Linked DNA regions of Homo sapiens: region 2 is linked to region 1. Evidence: promoter capture Hi-C in 16 types of primary human blood cells and fetal thymus (Javierre and others, 2016). All regions are on one chromosome and are shown on one strand. Each heading gives the region's core, a stretch centred on a gene start or on the middle of the fragment in contact. The rest is flanking DNA. Distances are from core to core; before and after follow the strand shown. Region 1 holds the start of OR13D1 (olfactory receptor family 13 subfamily D member 1). Region 2 has its middle 72 kb from the start of LINC01492.

Region 1 (7,745 bases), core at 1,761-4,260:
TCTCCCTGTATGTAATTCCCTAATAAACCCCATGTCTCATTTGCTGACTCTGGGTCTCTTGGCCTTTTGCACCTGGTGCCGCCCCTATTGAGATTAATAGGGGTTTAGCACAACACCATCGCCCAAGATACAAGTGGTAAGTTTAGTGTTCTTTCTATGCTAGCACAAATTTGTTTCTTCTCCACCTCTTCTTTCCTTCCACTTTCCTCTACTTCAAAACAGCTATGCTCTATCTAATTAAAACGGCTACCGTAACTGCCCACTTTGTGGGAACAAATCCATATGCCAATGTAGATAGAGACAGGAAAAAGAAGTGCAAGACAAAGGGAATATTTTCCAACATACCAACACATTGGTATCATCTAATTTTTTTTAATCTCCTCCCAAATCATGGTGTAGGTAGTACTCTCTAAGAGGAAGACAAAGGATATGGAAAGGGAATGGAGAAACTTTTTCCCTTCATCTCCCTGGAGCCAGTACTCCACTACTCCCTGGAGCCACTACTGATGCCCCAAATGGTCTGCAAAGACCATGCTGAGTTTCTTCTAGTCTCCCCATAATACTACATTTTTCATCATTATGCAACAGGGAGCTAGGAGGGCTTGCCATCTATGACTACCCAGAGAGTAAGCATTCATCCTGTCTTCAAAGTCTCTGGATATGAAAAGGCCAAAGCAAAAGTGTGGTTGTAGGGTCAGAATAAGATCAGTAAGAAATATTCTCATTCCACAAGGAGAGCCCAGCATAGATATAGTTCTTGTGGTAATAGTGTAACAATGTATGAGAAACAGCCCTTTATATAAGACATCTTAACACAATACTTGGACATATCAATGTAATGAATATGAAACGAATGGAGCACATTGAGTTTTCAAAGATGTGGCACTAATGTTATAAATGGGAGTAGTTTCTCAAAAGACTCTATGCTGCATTTAGATTTGCAGAGTGAGGGCAGGGGCTGTGGTATTTTTGATATGTTACTGATAAAGGCAAAGGTGGGCTGGGCATGGTGGCTCACACCTGTAATCCCAGCACTTTGGGAGGCTGAGGAGGGTGGATCACCTGAGGTCAGGGATTCAAGACCAGCCTGGCCAACATGGTGAAATCCCATCTCTACTAAAAATACAAAAATTAGCTGGGTGTGGTGGTATGCGCCTGTAATCCCAACTACTTGGGAGGCTGAAGCAGGAGAACCACTTGCACCTGGGAGGCGGAGGTTGCAGTGAGCTGAGATTACACCACTGCACTCCAACCTGGGCAACAGAGTGAGACTCTGTCTCAAAAGAAAAACAAAGAAAGAAAAGAAAAAGGCAAAGGTGATGAAAAGGACTTTTGTATCATTATTCTTGATCATGCTTTTTTTCATAGCTGTGAAATCGCCTTCTACACATAGAAAACTGAGCAGACCAGGCAGGGTGGCTCATGCCTGTAATCCTAGCAGTTTGGGAGGCCAAGGTGGGAGGATCACTTGAGGCCAGGAGTTCGACACCAGCCTGGCCAATATGATATGAACCCCGTCTCTACTAAAAATACAAAAATTAGCCAGGTGTAGTGGAGCATGCCAGTAATCTCAGCTACTCGGGAGGCTGAGGCAGGAGAATCGCTTGAATGTGGGAGGTGGAGGTTGCAGTGAGCTGAGATCGCGCCATTGCACTCCAGCCCAAGCAACAGAGCAAGATTCCGTCTTAAAAAAAAAAAAAAAAAAAAAAAACAGCGAGAGAAAAGAAAAGAAAACTGAGCAGACCACAATCAAAAGCTACAGGAAAAAGTAAGTGGTCCAGCCTTCAGAGTTCTCCATCACATCACATATGATCAGAATCACAAGTAAATGATGTTTGCTGTCTCACTGTACCCCAACAGAAGATACATTTTTGTAATAGTCTTCTCTTGCGTGGAATCTGTGTAGTAACCACTGAGAGAGAGTAGTGTATGGTGGGTAAAAGGGCTGATTCTATAGCCAGATGGCTAGATATTGAATTCTGGCTTTAGTATTTACTATCTGTATGACCTTGAGAAAGTTACTTAAACTTTTCTTTGTCTCTGTTTCCTACTTTGTAAAATGGCAGTAATACTACACTTAAGAAGAGAGAATCCCAGGGCCTGGAAAAAAAGCTGTACATGCTGGGACCTAGACTCCTTAATCTCTGGAAGCTTCTAGAACAGTCCTCCAATGATTCTCAGACTCCTAACAGGTTTTTGAAAGAAGTGCAATGAAATATCCCACTGAGAACAAAAATGTTCACAGTCTGTCAAGTGTGGTTTCAAACTTTAAACCTTTTACCTTTAAAAAGCTAAATCTACTTTTCCCTTTTAAGATTGGTAGATCTAAATATTATACTATAATTCATAAAATGCATGTGTATAAAAATACATTTAATATTATATCTTGTATAAGGTAAATATAATTATATTACATATATGCATACACACACACACACACACATATGCCATGTTGGAACCATTAGGTTCTAGGCACCTAATATTTTATCTAATTCTAACTATACTCTAAGAAATAATTATTGCTTTTTCCAAGCTTACTATGAACTATCTGCAACTCAGAAAAATAAACAACTTACCAAAGCTACATCCAGGTTAAATGATATGTCACTGGCAGTCTATAAAATCTTTTAAATAGAGGCCAGCTTCATCAAAAAAACAGCTTTAAGTTCAAAATCTCTTTCTACATTTGAAAGCAGCATGTTCCTAAACTTTATTTGACACTTCCCAGAATAATTCTGGCAGTATTGGTAGCTTTGAATGTGCTGCTGTGTAGTCCTAAGATATATTGGGTTTCTCAATGTCTCAATTTTCATAATCAATAAAACTAGTACAATATCCATACTGTTTTGCTTACTGAGAGTATTCTAAGAATCAAACACAATATCGGAAGCAAATTTGTATTGAAAATTTGTAGATGTACAGATTTACAGATTTTGATGTATCAAACATTTCAATTTACCTGAATCATGTCCTTTTCTATACTACCCAGCAGGCAGGTGACCTAGAACACATGGAGACAAGAAATTACTCTGCCATGACTGAATTCTTTCTGGTGGGGCTTTCCCAATATCCAGAGCTCCAGCTTTTTCTGTTCCTGCTCTGCCTCATCATGTACATGATAATCCTCCTGGGAAATAGCCTCCTCATTATCATCACCATCTTGGATTCTCGCCTCCATACTCCCATGTATTTCTTTCTTGGAAACCTCTCATTCTTGGACATCTGTTACACATCCTCATCCATTCCTCCAATGCTTATTATATTTATGTCTGAGAGAAAATCCATCTCCTTCATTGGCTGTGCTCTGCAGATGGTTGTGTCCCTTGGCTTGGGCTCCACTGAGTGTGTCCTCCTGGCTGTGATGGCCTATGACCACTATGTGGCCATCTGCAACCCACTGAGGTACTCCATCATCATGAACGGAGTGCTGTATGTGCAAATGGCTGCATGGTCCTGGATCATAGGCTGTCTGACCTCCCTATTGCAAACAGTTCTGACAATGATGTTGCCTTTCTGTGGGAATAATGTCATTGATCATATTACCTGTGAAATTTTGGCCCTTCTAAAACTTGTTTGTTCAGATATCACCATCAATGTGCTTATCATGACAGTGACAAATATTGTTTCACTGGTGATTCTTCTACTGTTAATTTTCATCTCCTATGTGTTTATTCTCTCTTCCATCCTGAGAATTAATTGTGCTGAGGGAAGAAAGAAAGCCTTCTCTACCTGTTCAGCGCACTCGATTGTGGTCATCTTATTCTACGGTTCAGCCCTTTTTATGTACATGAAACCCAAGTCAAAGAACACTAATACATCTGATGAGATTATTGGGCTGTCTTATGGAGTGGTAAGCCCAATGTTAAATCCCATCATCTATAGCCTCAGGAATAAAGAGGTCAAAGAGGCTGTAAAGAAAGTCCTGAGCAGACATCTGCATTTATTGAAAATGTGAAAAACCTTGGGCATGCGATATCCTCAATGGGGCAAGAGAGCTTGTCTTTTGTATTTAGATACTGCAAAACCTACTGTCACGAGAGCTTGTGTGTTTGCAAAACCAACTATTAGATTCCCATTCTTTTCAACGTAGAATTTTCATGCTCATGTAACCTTCTTAATAGTGCCTTGTCTGCTGGGTTTGTAGCTGTAAGCAGTTCTGCAAACTGGCCCTATAAAAATATTGATGCTGTCCATTAAAATGAATCTCTCTCTCTCACTCAGTCTCTCTCTCTGTCTGTCTCTCTTTCTTCTCTCTCCTGCCATGTGTGTGTCTCTCTCTACTCCTCTGATTTTGTCCTCTCTCTCTATTCTGCTACTCTCTCTCCTCTCCTCCGTATATTTTCTTTCTCTTCCTTTCTTTTCTGTTGTCTCCTTTCTCAGTCACTTTGAAGTGGATATATAGTTGTTGTGCAGCATCCCTGCACAATATTGCCACCCAATTGACAGATCTGCATAATATATATTAATAGAAAGATGTATATTTTTCTTTTAATGAACCAAAGTCCCCCACTCTCAGTCTATGTTGTACATGGTGGGGCTGACCCAAACCTCTGAAAATAAAGATAAGCATGGAAGAGGTCTTGGCAAAAAAAAAAAAAAAAAAGAAAGAAAGAAAGAAAGAAAGAAAGAAAGAAAGAAAGAAAGAAAGAAAGAAAGAAAGGATGTCTAATTCCTCTAGTCATAGTGATTGGTATAGTGCAGGATGTGACCCGAGCCATACTAATTAGACTCCATCCCAGGAATGCTGCCTTTGTCAGAAAGACACACTGTTTTTTGAAATGGTGTCTAAACTGGTAGAATGTTAACTCAGAATTCCTACTGGCAACCATTGCCAATATGTGAGGACAGCATGAGAATGAAAGCAGAGCTGAGATACAGAGTGTGCTTGATGGTGTCACTTTAACTCTTGAACGCAGCTGTAGCTAAAGCCAGATTCACCGTTGCAGATTTTATTTATGAGTCAAATTAGCATTTTATGAAAAACTAATTTGACCTGGATTTTACCACATACGACAAAATAAATCCTAATATATTCCTTTGTCCTATCTTCCTCTCCATCCTCTTACATTTTAAGGCAATAATAATAATAACAAGGTATGTAATCTGAGAGGTTCCAAGTTCTCCAGCCTGTAGGAGTTCCCTTTCTCATTAATAACTAAATTACAATAATCTAACCTCTATTCTGCATTACTTCAGGCATTTCAGTCATCTCCCCAATTATTTCTATGGAGCATTTACGTTTCTAATTTTTTGTTCTCATATTTTTCATCAAATTGATTTATGGACTTCTTACCATTTTTCTCTGTGCTTCAATCAATATATTGGTACTTGAAATAACTGCATTTTGCTTTTCTACATAATGTTTTTTAGTTTAATAAACATTGTCATTTGGTGGATTATGGTAGATTACTGTGTTATATATAAATACATATAAGTAGTAATAAGCCAAATTAAGGCAGAATTCCCTTAAGGGTGTTGCATATCTGATTTTGTCCACTCTGGGGACCAGAATCATAACTGTAATAGATTAGACAGGGCTCACTTAATTCAGTTATACAGAGATATAATTCCTAGATTATATGGAACTCAGAATTTGACAAAAACAAAAATAACTAATCTATTAATCTACAGGATAAAAATTTTTAAAGCCTGGTATGGTGGTGCATGCCTGTAATCCAAGCTGCTTTGGAGGCTGAAGTGGGAAGACTGCTTGAGCCCAGGAGTTCGAAACCAGCCTGGGCAACATAATGAGATCCCATCTCAAAAAAGTGAGAGAGAGATTTTAAAATGTTTTAAATTCCTTACCATGGTATACCAGACCCATATAATCTTAACCCCACCTAGTTTTACCACTTCATTTCCTACCACCTAACGATATTCATTAGACTCTCATTACACTCTCATTTCACTACCTTCTTGTTTCTCAAATATGCCAAAGCCTTTGCCTTTATTATTCCTTCTATCTGGGACACTCCTCCCCTCGATCTTCCAAGGGTTCCCTCTGTCATTTCAAATAAGTTTTTGCATAAATGTCTAATATATTCGTCTTATAAAAGTTGTAACATGTTTTTTTTTCCACAGCATTTCACTCCTTTAAAATGCTGTATGTATTTATCTTTTCTATGGATTTATTGTCTATTTTCTACAGGAAAAGTTCCTTGTAAGCAGGTACTTCTCCTTATCTATTGCTATCTTTTCCCAGTGTGTAGATCAATGAGAGGCAAATAATAGCTAATACATAGGCATTGGATGTGAAAAAGCATTCTGTAAAGCAATATTATGAACTTACTTTGGAGTATATTCATACATAAATGTATGCTTCCTTCTGACTAAATAACTAGCAGGAACCCTAAGACCAGTAGTTAAAGGACTATATTCTATACATTCCCAGTACTATCTTCTTTCCACACACTTTTCAATCCAGGTTCTGTTGATTCTCTTATATGTTGACATGAGCTTCTCATTCCATAATGTCTGTGCTGAAATCAGTCACTACATCTTGCAGGAATTTGATTTGTCTGGAGAAAGTCATTTGTCATTGCATTTGAAAATACAAAGACAATTTTAATATATGCTTTATTAATTGATTTTTGTGAAGGTTTGTTTCAGAGTGTACTGCAAATTACTGCATACATGTTGTCCATTGCTATGGAAGTACTTTTGTTTCATTTTTCCCTTCTCTTTTTAAAACGTCAGAATAAATTTCTGTCTCAAAATTTATCTAAGTGCTTGTTATCTTTTTTGCAGACTCTATCATAGTCAATGTTTTCTATTGTGCTGTTGGTTGAAGAGAGGATAGTAATATAATTCTACTGCTGTACAGAGTCCCTTCTTGATTAAGGTCCAGGCAGTAAGTTTCCTATTTTACACTAACATACTACTTCTTGGGAAACTCCATTTGGCATACCCTCTGATGGAAATAATTCAGTGAAATACCAATTATTAATGTAGTAACTGCTTGAAAAAGTAGAAGATAGTATTACCAGACTCTAAAAACATTTACAAATGTAACATCCTTGAAAGAATATTTGATTTTTGATTCCAAATATCTCTTACACATAATGTTAAAAAGGTTAAACTCGACATAACACAAATTTTGGGCCAGGCGCAGTGGCTCATACCTGTAATCCCAGTACTTTGGGAGGCCGAGGCGGGCAGACCACGAGGTCAGGAAATTGAGACCATCCTGGCTAACACGGTGAAACCCCGTGTCTACTAAAAATACAAAAAATTAGCCGGGCGTGTTGACACAAGCCTGTAGTCCCAGCTACTCAGGAGGCTGAGGCAGGAGAATCGCTTGAACCTGGGAGGCGGAGGTTGCAGTGAGCCAAGATCGTGCCACCGCAATCCAGCCTGGGCGACAAAGCAGAGTTGAAAGAAAGAAGGAAGGAAAGAAAGGAAAGGAAAGGGGAGGGGAGGGGAGGGGAGGGGAGGGGAGGGGAGGGGAGGGGAGGGGAGGGAAGGGGAGGGAAGGGAAGGGGGGAAGAAAAGAAAGAAAGAGAGAGAAAGGAAGGAAAGAAAAGAAAAAGCTCAAATGTCTCAAAACTATAAATAATTCTTAATTGGGAGAAATATACTCACACCTTAAAAAACAAATCAACAGTACCAGAGACGAAGACATTTAAGTGAAAATTTTTAAATGTATCAATAAGGAGGGCTACTTTTATAAGGGAAAACGCATATACTATTGTCAAGAATAAAAACTTTTTTCAGACTGATCATTTTAGAAGAAATTTGAAAAAGAA
Region 2 (7,745 bases), core at 2,931-5,430, 1.3 Mb before region 1:
CTTATAGTTTCAAGTTATACATTTAAGTATTTAATCAATTTTGAGTTTATTTTTGTATGTAGTGAGAAATAGAGATCTATTTTTATTTCTTCTGCTATCCAATTTTCCCAGCACCATATATTGACTAGAATAAACTTTCCACATCATATATTTTTGTTGACTTCCTGAAAGGTAAATTGGATGGAGGTATATGATTTTGTTTCTAGGTACTCTAATATGTTCCATTATTTATGAGTCTATTTTTGTACTAGTAACATGCTGTTTTGGTTATGACAGTGTATTAGTCAGGGTTCTCTAGAGGAACAGGACTAATGGGATAGATGTATATATGAAAGGGAGTATATTAAGGAGTATTGACTCATGTCATCACAAGGTGAAGTCACAAAATAGGCTGTCTGCAAGCCGAGTAGCAAGGAAGCCAGTCCGAGTTCCAAAACCTCAAAACTAGGGACGCTGACAGTGCAGCCTTCAGTCTGTGGCTGAAGGCACCAGAGCCACTGGCAAACCACTGGTGTATGTCCAGAGTCCAAAAGCTGAAGAACTTGGAGTCTGATGTTTGAGAGCAGGAAGCATTCAGCATGGGAGAAAGATGGAGGCCAGAAAACTTAGCCAGTCTAGTCCTTCCATGTTCCTCTGCCTGCTTTTATCCTAGCCATACTGGTAGCTGATTAGATGGTACCCACCCAGATTGAGGGTGGGTCTGCCTCTCCTAGTCCACTGACTCAAATGTTAACCTCTTTTGGCAACACCCTCACAGACACACCCAGGAATAATACTTTGCATTCTTCAATCCAATCAACTTGACACTAAATACTAACCATCATATACAGCATTGTAGTACAATTTGCAGTCATAAAATGTGATATGTTCAGCTTTGTTCTTTTTGCTTACAATTGCTTTGGCTCTTTGGGTTCCTTTTTGTTTCCACATGACTTTTAGGATAGTATTTTTTCTAATTCTGTGAAGAATGACGTGGTAATTTAATCAGATTTGTGTTGAATCTGTAGATTGCTTTAAGCAGTGAGGTCATTTTAATGATTTTGATTTTCCAATACATGAGGGGAAGTTTTTCCATTTGTTCATGTCATCTATATCTTTCTATCATCAGTGATTTGTAGTTCTCCTTATAGAGATCTTTCACCTCCTCGATTAAATGTATTCCTAGCTATTTTTATAACTTGTGGCTATTATAAATAAAATTGAGTTGTTGATTTGGTTCTCAGCTTGAATATTATTGGTGTATATGGAAACTACTGATTTTTGCATGTTGATGTTGTAGTCTGAAATTTTACTGAAGTCATTTATCGAGTCTAGTCTTTTGCAGCATTCTTTAGGGATTTCTAAATATAAGGTCATGTCATCAGAGAACAGATCATTTGACTTCCATTTTTCCATTTTGGATGCCTTTTATTATTATTATTTTTTCTTGCCTGATTGCTCTGGCTAGGACTTGGCAGTCCTAGGATGTTGAATAGGAGTGTTGAGAATAAGATATCCTTATCTTGTTCCAGTTCTTGGGAGTGAGGTGCTTTCAACTTTTCCCCATTTGGTATGATGTTGGCTGTGGATTATCATATAAGGCTTTTGTTATCTTGAGTTATGTTTCTTTGATGCCTCATTTGTTGAGAGTTTTTACAATGAAGCAATGTTGGGTTTCATTGAATACTTTTTCTGCATTTATTGAAATGATCATGTGGTTTATGCTCTTAATTCTCTTTATGTAGTAAATTTCACATTTTCTCATATGCTGGGCCATCCTTGTATCTCTGGAATAAAACCCACTTGATTGTGATGGATTATCTTTCTGACATATGGTTGGATTCAGTTTGCTAGTATTTTGTTGTGAATTTTTACATCTATGTTTACTAGCAAAATTGGGCTGTAGTTTTCTTTTTCTGTTGTCTCTTTGCCTGGTTTTGGTATCAGGGTGTTATTGGTTTCATAGAATGAGTTAGGGAGGCATCCCTCCTCCTCAATTTTTTTGAATAATTTCAGCAGAATTGGTATCAGCTCTTCTTGGTGTGTTGGGTAAAATTTAGCTATAAATGCCCCCAGCCCTAAGCTTTTTTTATTAGGAGATTATTTATTACTGATTCATTTTCATTATTCATTATTGGTTTGCTCAGGGTTTCTATTTGGACCTGCTTCAATCTTGGGAAGTTGTATGTTTCCAGAAATTTATCTATTTTCTCATGCCTTTCTAGTTCGTGCACATAGAATGCTCATAGTTGTCTCTGATGATCTTTAGTATTTTCTTGGTATCAGTTGTAATGTTACCTTTATCATTACTGATTGTGCTTATTTGAATATTCTATCTTTTTTGCTTGGTTAATCTAGCTAGCTGACTATTAATTTTGTTTATCATTTCAAGGAAACAATTTTTCATTTAGTTGTTATTTTGCATTATTTTTGGGGTCTCAATCTCATTTAGTTTTGCACTGATATTTGTTGTTTTTTTATTCTGTTAGCTTTGTGTTTGGTTCATTTTTGTTTCTCTAGTTCCTTGAGGTGCAAAGTTAGGTTGTTAATTTGAGAACTTTTTCTTTTTGAGGTAGACATTTAGCAGTATTAGCTTTCCATTTAACACTGCTTATGATGTATTCCAGAGGTTTTGGTATATTGTGTCTCTATTTTCATTTGTTTCCAAAAATATTTTTATTTCTGCCTTAATTTTGCCTGCTTACCCAAAGGTCATTCAAGAGCAAGTTTTTGAGTTTCCACGTACTTGTGTAGTTTTGAGAGTTCCTCTCTGTTTTGACTTTTAATTTTATTCCACTGTGGTCAAAGAAGATACTTGATATTATTTCAAATTTAAAAAAAAATTGAGACTTGCTTTATGTCCAAGAATATGGTCTATTTTGGAGAATGTTCCATGCACAAATTAGAAAAATGACTATTCTGTGGTTGTTTGGTAGAATGTTCTGTAGCTATCTATTAGGTCCATTTGTTCCAGAGTCCAGTTTAAGTCCAGAGTTTATTGCTTTTCTGCCTCGATGATCTGTCTAATGCTGTGAGTTGGGTCTTGAAGCCCCCATTATTATTGTGTTGTTGTCTACCTCTTTTCTTAGGACTAGTAGTTTGTATTTTATGAATCTTTGGGCTTTGGTATTGGGTACATATATATCTAGAACAGTTAAATCATCTTGTTGAATTTGGCCCTTTATGGATTATATAATGGCATTCTTTGTCTTTTTTCACTGTTATTGATTTAAATTCTGTTCCATATAAGCATAGCTATGAATGCTTATTATTGTTTTTCATTTGTATGATATATCTTTTTTTCACTCCTTTGCTTTAAATCTGTGAGTGTCTTTACCTCTTAAGTGGGTCTTTTGTAGACAGCAGATGGTTGGATTCTTTTAAAATCCAATTTGCTAGTCTATATCTTTTAAGTGGAGCATTCAGGCCATGTATGTTCAAAGTTAACATTGATGTGTGAGGTTTTTTCCCCATTCATAGTGTTTTAAGTTAGATGCTTTGTAGTCTCAATTATATAACTGCTTTTTAGGGTTTTGAGCATTGTAGTTATGTATACTTTTACAATGGAAAGTACTGTCCTTTCATTACCATGTTTAAAACTCTTTGAGCGTTTCTTGTAGGACTTGTCTAGTGGTGATGAATTCCCTTGGCATTTGCTTGTTTGACATAGACCTCATTTCTCCTTCATTTATGAAGCTTAGTTTGGCAGGATGTAAAGTTCTTGGCTGGCATGTTTTTCTTTAAGCAGTCTAAAGAAAATAGAGCCCCAATCTCTTCTGGCTTATAAGGTTTCTACCGAGAAGTCCACTGCTAATCTGATGGTATTTCCTTTATATGTGATTCAATGCTTCTGTGTAGCTGCTTTTAAGACTTTTTCTTTCACCTTTCACTTTGACCTTGGATAGTCGGATAATTATATGCTTTGGTCATTTTCCTCTTGTATAGTGTCTTTCAGGTGTTCTCTGAATATCTCGTGTCTGGATGTCTATATCTACAGCAAGATCAGAAAACTTGTAATTAAGTATTCCCTCAAATATGTTTCCCAAACTTCTTACTTTTACTTCTTCTCCCTCAGGAATGCCTATAAGTCATAGATTTTGACCCTTTACGTAATCCCTTAATCCCATATCTCTCCAAGGCTTTCTTAATTTTTTTCAATTATTTTTTTATTTTTGGCTGCGTTATTTCAAAAGACTTGTATTTGAGCTCTGAAATTTTTTCTTCTTCTTGATCTAGTCTTGCTAAAGGATTGAAATGCATTTTGACATTTCTTCAGTTAATTTTTCATTTTCAGAAATTCTTTTTTTCCTAATATATCTATCTTGTCCTTCATCTCCTGAATTTTTTTCTATTTCTTTTTGTTGTTTTTAAATGTTCTCTTTCATCTCATTGAACTTATTTCTAATCCATATTTTGAATTCCTTATCTGTCATTTCATAATTTTCATTTTGGCTAAGCTCCATTGTTTGAGAACTTGTATGGTCCTTTGGAAGTGTCACACCTTAGTTTCTTCATGGTGCTGGAGTTCTTACACTAGTTACTTCTCATCTGGAGAAGCTATAATTATTAGTTTTGAACTTACTTTCATTTGGATGGGCTTTATTTCCCCTTGGCGGCATGTCTGCCTTGTATTTTGGATAGGGTCCTTTGTCTTTGCTTTTTTCTGCTTTAGGGGGCCAAGGCTCTGTATGAGTTCCTGGGTATAGATAAGCTTAGTGTAACAGTTTTCTCAAATGCTAGTTGTTTCTATGTTGTAGTAGTGTTTTACTATGTGTGTCATCAGGCTCCCTGCCTCCTGCAGAGGTAGGGAGGTGGAGGTCACAGGAGAATTATGTCATTCCACAGTGCTGTGTACTTCTGTCAGCAGAAATTATAGTGGAACGTGCAGTTCACCCTAGGGGACAGTAGGTGGCACTTGCAGGTAAATTCCAACCAAACGCTGAACAGTAGTGTCAGCAGAAATTGTGATGAGTTGTGCAGGTTGACCTCCTGGTCAGTAGATAGTGCTTTCAGGCAAGAGGCAGTTTCAGTGGTAGTAGTGGAATTTTTATTTGACCTTTGTTGATCAGAGGAAGCACTAGTGTGTCCCAGGTGATGTGTGAGGCCATGGGGTTTTCAGGGGTCCCCATCCGGGGTTCTGACACAAAGGGAACTAGAGAGGACAATATGAGGCAGGGTTGGATGGTACAAGTCCATAACCAGGCTCTCCAAGATGGGCTTAAGCGCTGGTTTTGGCTGGAGTCCAGGGACAGCTCTCAGGCCTTTGGAGCAACTCTTCAAGAGGGGCAGAAGTGCTTCTTTCATACCACAGAGCCCTCTCAGAAGAAAACCAGACAGGGTTTTCAGCCCAGCAAGTGGCAATGGAAACTGCCCGGCTCCCACAGCCCTAACCTGGAAGGTCTTCAGTGTCTGGCAGCCAGCAGCAGGACAGAATGGTTAGGCTAGTCTAAAGCTGTCTGCGTTCAAATCACAAAGCTATTCCGGGATTTCTAGGGTTCTAGACTCTGTGGGGCAGAAACCACAGTTACCAGGCCACACCTTTCCCATTCCAGTCTTGTAAAGGGAGGGATGCCCAGGTCCTAGGCCACTCCACAATCTGGTGCCACACTCTTCTTTGTGTTTTGACAGTGGGGGCTCCTTCCCCACTTGAGATTAGATCACAAATCTCATCTCCATTTTCCTGGATGGTGTGTTCAAGTCTTAGGGAACTGGGACCAGGCCAGAGGATTTGCCAGGAGCTCAAGCACCAGCCTGGATATGGAGGGACAAACTGCTCCAAGGCTGCCAACAACTCAACTGGGGTGGGGCAATGGCGGCTAGGTTGTGGGCCCATCCTCTGTGGGAATGGCCTAGCAGGCAGTTTTGGGAGAGACTGGCAGGCACGGGGCCCATGATTCAGATGGAGTCTGTCTTTGGGGCCCGTAAAAGTGACCAGGCCCTGCTCATTCCCTGGCCCAGCAGACAGCAGCAGCTGCAGAAGCTTAGGATACAGAGCCATGTGACGTAGGCACCCACAGTCATGCTTTGCTGCAATGCTCAACTCATGGAAGGCTTTGAGGCTCCACATGCGTTCAAGCAGCGACTTTTCATGGTTACCAGGTATCTCCATCTACCAATCCAAAGATCTTCAGGTGTCAGAAACCTTCATAGCTAGAATCTCAGAGGTCCACAGTAGGAATATGATACCCTGGGGTTCCTTCACTGACTCCTTTCTCGGGTCTGGATCTGGGTCTTGGGCCCAGTCCTAGTATCTGGCAATGCTGAGCAGGCAGCCCTACTTCTTCCCTCTTAACCACAATTTCTTCCATCACCTCTCTTTTGAATTTTAGTGCTCTCTTTCAAAAGATCTGTTCAAAGTGTGAAGATTGTCATGTTTTGTTTCCTCCCCACGGAAGAGGTGCATTCTAACTGCCTCTCACCAGCCATCTTGAACTCACATCCCGGTCTTACCTATTTCTAAATAAAAGCCTGTATGTAGGCAACAGAATAAACCTGAAAAATATTTAATCTGTAAGTGATTTAAAATATTTTCCAATATTAAATTATTAAATAATTCAATATTACAATATTCGATATTATATTTTAATAATATAAATAGAAATATATTTTTATAATACTGAATAAAATTTGAAGTTAATTCCACAATTTGATTATCAATTGATAATGAGTACTTATTTTCTTTCATTGTGCATTGTTCAATATTGCCTCCTTTATTTCAATAATGACATTTTCACCCTTTACCTTCCAACTCTGTTCTCTTTGCTAAGATCAGCATTCTCTCTGCCATCAATGTTCTCTCTAAGATACTATAATGCAGGAGAACATTATATTCAGCAACCTTTAATAGAAAGAGTTACTTTGTTGAGTCTTAAATACATTCTCAAGTACCTCTTTCATTACACAGTACGTAGTGCTGTTGTAGAAATATTACATCAAGCCTTCTCTCATAACTGAATACTTTTTATTTGTTCATTAAAAGTATTTGTCACCTTTTTATGTTAATATAACTTATTTTTCTTAGTTTTCACTAGCTCCTGCAAATAGGCATTTAAAGACTTTTCACACAGGCAGCAAGACCTGCCAGTAAGTCTAAATCCTCATAGTGAATTCAGCTTCAGTTAACATCATGTCTCTCATCCCTTTCTTCTTCTAGTTCATTTTCTCTGAAGCACATCAATATGATGATAATAATCAACAGGTGTTAATTCAATGAAATTGTTGTCCAAATATTCAAAATGAACTCCAGATGTTAGAAAAAAATGTGTTTTGTTAAATTTTGGCTAACATCTTGACTTACTCATCTTAACTGATTTCAGGGTTTGGGATTAACTAGAGAAAATACATTAGTGATTAAGTGCTTTATATATTTTTAATTTTATATTTTAGAATAAATTCCTTAGCCAGTTATTCTTCTAAGAGAAATAAGCTTCACATAATTTTCTGAAACATATCTTATGTGGAAATGCTTTGGAAATGTTAGGGATTACATGGATACAGTGAACTATTAGTTGTACAAATTCATACATGTTTTTCTGACACTGAATTCAGTCAGAAAACCATAAAAAGAACATTATGGCTATAAAAGAAGTCTGCAGTAAAATAAGATATTTTAGGTGTAAAATCTGGACTTGAAAACTATATCACAAATTAATGCTGCTGCTCTGTAAAGGATGAAGAAGAAGGCTATGAAAAAAATCAAATAATCTAGTAAAATTATTTTTTGAAAAAATAAACAAAGAAGGATTTTTACAATCTCTAGCCCATTA

Evidence for each region. Contacts are between HindIII fragments. The CHiCAGO score rates a contact against its expected background, and 5 or more counts as called.
Region 2: a contact is called between a fragment that was not itself captured here and the fragment with the promoter of OR13D1 in region 1, in 2 of 17 cell types (M1 macrophages and erythroblasts). The highest score is 5.4, in M1 macrophages.

The regions. Positions count from the first base shown.
Region 1 is chr9:104,691,508-104,699,252 of GRCh38, forward strand. It overlaps OR13D1 (olfactory receptor family 13 subfamily D member 1), which reads left to right and starts at 3,011. Exons shown (of 1, transcript NM_001004484.2): 1 at 3,011-3,955. The coding sequence starts at 3,011. The coding sequence ends at 3,955. All of the region lies in intron 1 of LOC107987105 (a long non-coding RNA gene), which reads right to left. The HindIII fragment of the contact is 5,977 bases long and covers 2,532-7,745 here.
Region 2 is chr9:103,393,188-103,400,932 of GRCh38, forward strand. No RefSeq gene overlaps it. Among named protein-coding and RNA genes, the nearest start is that of LINC01492, 72 kb to the left of the region's middle. The HindIII fragment of the contact is 1,015 bases long and covers 3,674-4,688 here.